2 separate regions of the Homo sapiens genome follow, and region 1 is linked to region 2. Evidence: promoter capture Hi-C in 16 types of primary human blood cells and fetal thymus (Javierre and others, 2016). All regions are on one chromosome and are shown on one strand. Each heading gives the region's core, a stretch centred on a gene start or on the middle of the fragment in contact. The rest is flanking DNA. Distances are from core to core; before and after follow the strand shown.

Evidence for each region. The method cuts DNA at HindIII sites, captures the fragments that hold promoters and counts their contacts. A CHiCAGO score of 5 or more calls a contact.
Region 1: a fragment that was not itself captured here is called in contact with the fragment with the promoter of SUCLG2 in region 2 in 2 of 17 cell types (non-activated CD4 T cells and total CD8 T cells); the score reaches 6.1 in non-activated CD4 T cells.

What each region holds. Positions count from the first base shown.
Region 1 is chr3:68,053,819-68,056,518 of GRCh38, forward strand. All of the region lies in intron 2 of TAFA1 (TAFA chemokine like family member 1), which reads left to right. Among named protein-coding and RNA genes, the nearest start is that of TAFA1, 51 kb to the left of the region's middle. The HindIII fragment of the contact is 884 bases long and covers 921-1,804 here.
Region 2 is chr3:67,653,296-67,655,995 of GRCh38, forward strand. SUCLG2 (succinate-CoA ligase GDP-forming subunit beta) reads right to left here and starts at 1,317. Exons shown (of 11, transcript NM_003848.4): 1 at 1,208-1,317. The coding sequence starts at 1,291. SUCLG2-DT (SUCLG2 divergent transcript) reads left to right here and starts at 1,402. Exons shown (of 7, transcript NR_109992.1): 1 at 1,402-1,807. RefSeq lists a silencer at 929-1,608 and an enhancer at 1,124-1,623. The HindIII fragment of the contact is 5,512 bases long and covers 1,257-2,700 here.

The sequences.
Region 1 (2,700 bases), core at 113-2,612, 400 kb after region 2:
TCAGCCTCCCAAGTAGCTCAGACTATAAGCAAGCACCATCTCACTTGGCTAATTTTTAAATTTTTTTGTAGAGATGAGGTCTTACTATATTGCCCAGGCTGATCTTGAACTTCCAGCCTCAAGTGATCCTCCTACCTTGGCTTCTCAAAGCACTGGGATTACAAGCATGAGCCACCATGACTGACCTACTTTTACATTTTAAAAAGTATCAAAATAGCCATCAGAGAAATCACAAGTTTTCTGGACTCCCCTTCACAGATATGAAGTTTTAATTTTTATGTGCACTAGCAATTGGCAAACTATGTTGCTATAGTTTGGATGCTTGTCCCTTCCAAATTTCACATTGAAATGTGATCCCCAGTGTTGGAAGATGAGGCCTAGTGGGAGGGGCTTGGGTCATGGAGATGGACCTCTTGTGAGTAGATGAATGTCTTCCCTTTGGGAGCCAGGGGTCAGGGGAGTAGGGAGGGTAGTGAGTGAGTTCCCACTCTATTAGTTCCCACCATAGCTGGCTGTTAAAAGGAGCCTGGCACCTCCCCTCCTCTCTCTCCATGTGATCTGTTCACTCCAGCTCCCCTTCACCTTCTGTTGTGAGTGGAAGCAGCCTGAGGCCCTTATTAGATGCCCAATCTTCTAGGCAACATAACTACAAGCCAAATAAACCTTTTTTCTTTATAAATTACCCAGCCTTAGCTATTCCTTTATAGCAATACAAAATAGACTAAGAAGACATGTGGCCTGTGGACCAAATCTGATGTGCTGTTTTTGTGAATAAAGTTTTCTTGAGACACAGGTACACTCATTCATTACATATTGTCCATGGCTGCTTTCACACTACAACAGCAGAGGTGAATAGTCATAGCACATACTGTATGGCCTGCAAGGCCTAAACTGTTTACTATCTGGTGCTTTACAGGCAAAGCTTTGCCAACCTCTGAGTTTAATTGATTGGGGTTAATATTATTCATTCATTTGTTTATTCATCTATTTAACAGACAGTTAACAAGTAGCTACCATTTGCCAGACACTATTTTAAGATCTAAGGTTATAGCACTAGTTACATTATTAGACAAGTTTATGATCCTCAATTTCTTAATCTAGTACTACGTATGTTTGTCTTTTATTTATTTGGGGTAGACTATGCTCTGAAGTTTTTATAATGAGATATGTACCTCTATGCCTTGGTTTAGGGTCTCCCACAAGCAGACCTTCAGGCAGTTGTTTTGGTGGAGGCATCTTATTTGGATGGTAAGAAAACATGAACAGGAGTGGGGAAGTATGAAAGGAAAGGGAAGGCAGTCAAAAAAGAGTTAATTACCAAGCCACCTGCCATAGTGCGTGATAGAAACTTAATCCCCTGAAGAAACTCTGGGAAATCTGTAAAGCACACAACTCAGAAACACCTCACCTAAGGGCTGAGGAGCAGAGGAATTTATAATCCAACTCTTAAGTGTCATCGGTAGATACTCATGTGTGTGTATGTATGCGGGGGGCAAGAGGTGGGATGGTTTGATTCTTTGTTTGCCTTGTATGGTGAATGCCTCCATATCAATAAACTCCATTACCCAGCACTATATTTTGCTCCCTTCCCCTACCCCAAGGGTACAGAACTCTCAAAGTTCACTGCCACACCTGTTTTCCTAGTTTCGGTAGCTACCTATTAACCAGAACTTGAAACACAGTTATTAAATAATTCTTTACTTCTTGAAGCAGAGTAAGTGCTTCCTTACTCAAGCCATATTAGAACGTGGGGACAGATCTTGAGGAAGGCAAGTATCATCTCCCAAGGCTGCCTCCTAGGTGAAGCTTCTGCTTGGTCTCCCAGCAAGGAAAGGATGCTATATTCTAAGAATAAGATGTAGATAACTTCTGAAGTCTCAGAGGGTTAAGGAGAATCTGAGAGTTCAAGAGTCTGGAGTGCATTTACACAGATGTCCCTTTCCCTGGACATATCTCAGGGTTTTCCATCTTCTTTATCTATGCTCTGCCTTAGAATGTTGGCTGGGGCTGTTGCTTCAACACTCTAGACAGTTCTCTCACATCAGGTCCTAGCCCCGATTTTCAGCCTGATCTTTTCTCTGCCTGCAGAAGATGAGAGTCTCTTTAAATGATGCCGGAGAGGCCTCTGGCTTTCCATACTGAACCCTGGGTTGGTGTTCAGCTCACTTGAGCCTGTCATTTTCTTCTTTCAGCTCATTGATGGTACTTGGTCCAACTATCCAATTCCATAATCTTTCCAATGGCCAATGCCACCCTATCTCTCAAGTGCTAGAGAAATTGCATAAGCTAGTGCATCCTCTTCCAGCTGTGCCCCATCCCAATTCAATCTTAGGTAAGAGTCTCAGCAGTTATGATTTCATAGCACACCATTCCACTCGTGACTAGCAATGGTAATTTTGTTGCCATTTTGCTAGTTTCTAGCTGCAAAGACCAATTCTAGAGATCTGTTTCCTAGGACCACTTTGAGTTCCAACCTGAGTTCTCAGGTTTTAGTACTGAAAGTCCCACATCCTGAAAAGCTACAAGTTCTAGGCAAATTTGAAATGCTTTTCCTGGGACTGTCTTGGTTTTAAAATTGCAAGTCCCATGTCCCAGGAACACCCTCTGTCCTTACCAAACCAGATGGGTGGTCACCCAAGTTTCAACTGTGTAATTACTCCAGAATTAGATCCTGAGGTAGATCCAGGTTTATTTTGGAGA
Region 2 (2,700 bases), core at 67-2,566:
TTAGTGAGTTTTAATTAGACAAAACTGCCATTCCTTTTGCTACCTCACTATACTGTCAAGCACCTATTAAGAATATTACAGTAGTAAGTATTAGCACCTTTTAAATTTACATTAACAATAACAGAGAAATGGGGAGGCAGGAAATGAAAGGAGAGGGGTAAAAATAGCTCACAGATGTCATAACCAAAGTTTAGAGGAACTCAAAAAATCATTAATCACTATTTTTTAAATTTTCTAAAAAACTATACTATGCACATCCTGGTTAAAATTGTATGAGTGATAATTTGCCTCTCATCAATTAAAAATGGGGAAATAGGCAAGGTCATTAACTCTGCTGTGGCTGAATCCCAGACTGTGCTTTCTTTAAAAGGGAAGAGAGATAGTCTACGGAGACTAACCAGTTCAGTGGTTGAGTGATTTCTACAAGAGTCATCACCAACTCAAAACTTTCCTGAAGTCCTTCTGACTATTTTAACGCTTGCCATCTGCAGAAGGTAAAAATCTGCTAGAGGCCAAGTTCCAATCGCTATCCAGCCCACCACTGACCCTCTTTGATTTCATTCTCCATCAACAAGGAGGACATGGACAGGGTCAATGGTCTAATGCGTTTTAGTGACAGCCCTGATTTTTCATTGGAAAGAGGAGAAAGATCGTTTCCCATTTTTCTCCTTGACCCACGGATTTGACCAACTCAGGCACATTAAAAGTCTGCAAAAGCAGGTAGCCTGCAGGAAGTTCACCCTAGGGGGTGAGTTCCTAGTTGGGCTGAAACGGGTTTCCAGGCATGTTTATCACGTGGTCTAAACGTGCTCAGGGTTAGTGCCAGAAGTTTGAAAAGCAGAATTAGTAGAGCTGACAATAAAACCTCAGGGCTCCAAAACCCGGTCCAAGAAACTTTTCTTAAACTTGCGTCCAGCGCCTGCTTCAGCGCCTTCGCCATGAGTCTGCGCGGGCAGACAGCGGAGACTCTAGTGCGTTGGGTCGCTCATACCCCGAGGCACCCGGGGCTGCCGCCGCGCCGCCCCTGCCCCACACTGGAGCGGGGTTCCCTGCTGCGCCTGGACCCGGCGCCGCGTCACCTCCCGAAGTGGGGCGCCCGAGGGGCCGCGCAGGGGGTCAGGCGGAGACCAAGAGTAGCAGGGGGCGAGGGAAGCCCGGGCAGGCCGGCGCCGCTGCTGGCGCCCGCAGCTCCTGCCCCCACGCTCACCTGGGACCCGGCCGCCAGGAAGCGGGGCCGCAGCGCTAGGGCTCGCAGAAGCTTCCCGGCCTGCGCTGCTACGGGGGACGCCATCTTAAACAGGAAACTCGGCACGGGGCAGTAGGGCGGGCGCGGGCAGGGGAAGGAGGCGGAGGAGGAGCAGCGGGAGGAGGGGTCAGAGGAGAAGCGGGCGCGGGGAGGAAAAGGAGGAGGAGGCAGAGGCGGTCTGGGCCGGGCCGGGCCTGACCCCTGCGTCCCGGGGGCACAGGCGTTCTTAAGGCTGCAGAGCCCTGGGTCCCCCACCCGGCCCCGGTTCACTTTGAGCGGTCCCAAGGCCTGAGGGCCTACTGTCCAGTCCCCAGGTTATCGTCCTGAGCAAAGACAGACCCCGAGCCCTGCGGTCTTGGGGCTCAAACAGTCCCTGGATGGCCAAACAAGCAAATATTCGCCATGGCAGTGGGTGCTGGAAGGGTGGCTCACGGAGCTGACGCCCTCCGCAGAGAACCGTGGTCTAGTCCTGCGGTCACGAGGCCTATCTGGGACAGTGGTGTTTGAGCTGAGACTTTAACGAATAGAGACAGGTGAGGTTCCTGCAGCCCAGGGCTTCAGGTGAGTCAAGGAGAGGCCATTGGAGGCTCTCCATCCCTTAAGGAGTTGTGGGTGTTTTGTTTTGTTCTATCCTTAACCTAAAATCAATGTAAAGCTGAGAGATGAAGCCGGGTGGGTCGGTTGGGGACTTGGAGAACTTCTCTGTCTAGCTAAATGATTGTAAATGCACCAATCAGCGCTCTGTGTCTAGCTAAAGGTTTGTAAATACACCAGCCAGCCCTCTGTGTCTAGCTAATCAGGTGGGGACTTGGAGAACTTTTCTGTTAGCTAAAGGATTGTAAATGCACCAATCAGTGCTCTGTGTCTGGCTAAAGGTTTGTAAACACACCAATCGGCACTCTGTAAAAACGCACCAATCAGCGCTCTGTGTCTAGCTAAACGTTTGTAAATGCACCAATCAGCACTCTTTAAAAAGGGACCAATCAGCACTCTGTAAAATGGACCAATTGGCACTCTGTAAAATGGACCAATCAGCAGGATGAGGGTGGGGCCAAATAAGGGAATAAAAGCTGGACACCGGCGCCAGTAGTGGCCCCTAGTTGGGGTCTCCTTCCAGGTTGTGGTTGCTTTGTGCTTTTGCTTTTTGCAGTAGCTCTTGCTGCTGTTCACTGTTTGGGTCCGCACTATCCTTATGAGCTATAACACTCACCACAAAGGTTTGCAGTTTCACTCCTGAGGTCAGGGAGACTGCGAACCCACTGGGAGGAATGAACAACTCCGTATGCCCCACCTTCGAGGGCTGTAACACTCACTGCAAAGGTCTGCAGCTTCATTCGTGAAGTCAGCGAGACCACGAACCCACAGGCAGGAACAAACAACTCCGGACGGGCCACCTTTAAGAGCTGTAACACTCACTGTGAAGTCTGCGGCTTCACTCCTGAAGTCAGCGAGAC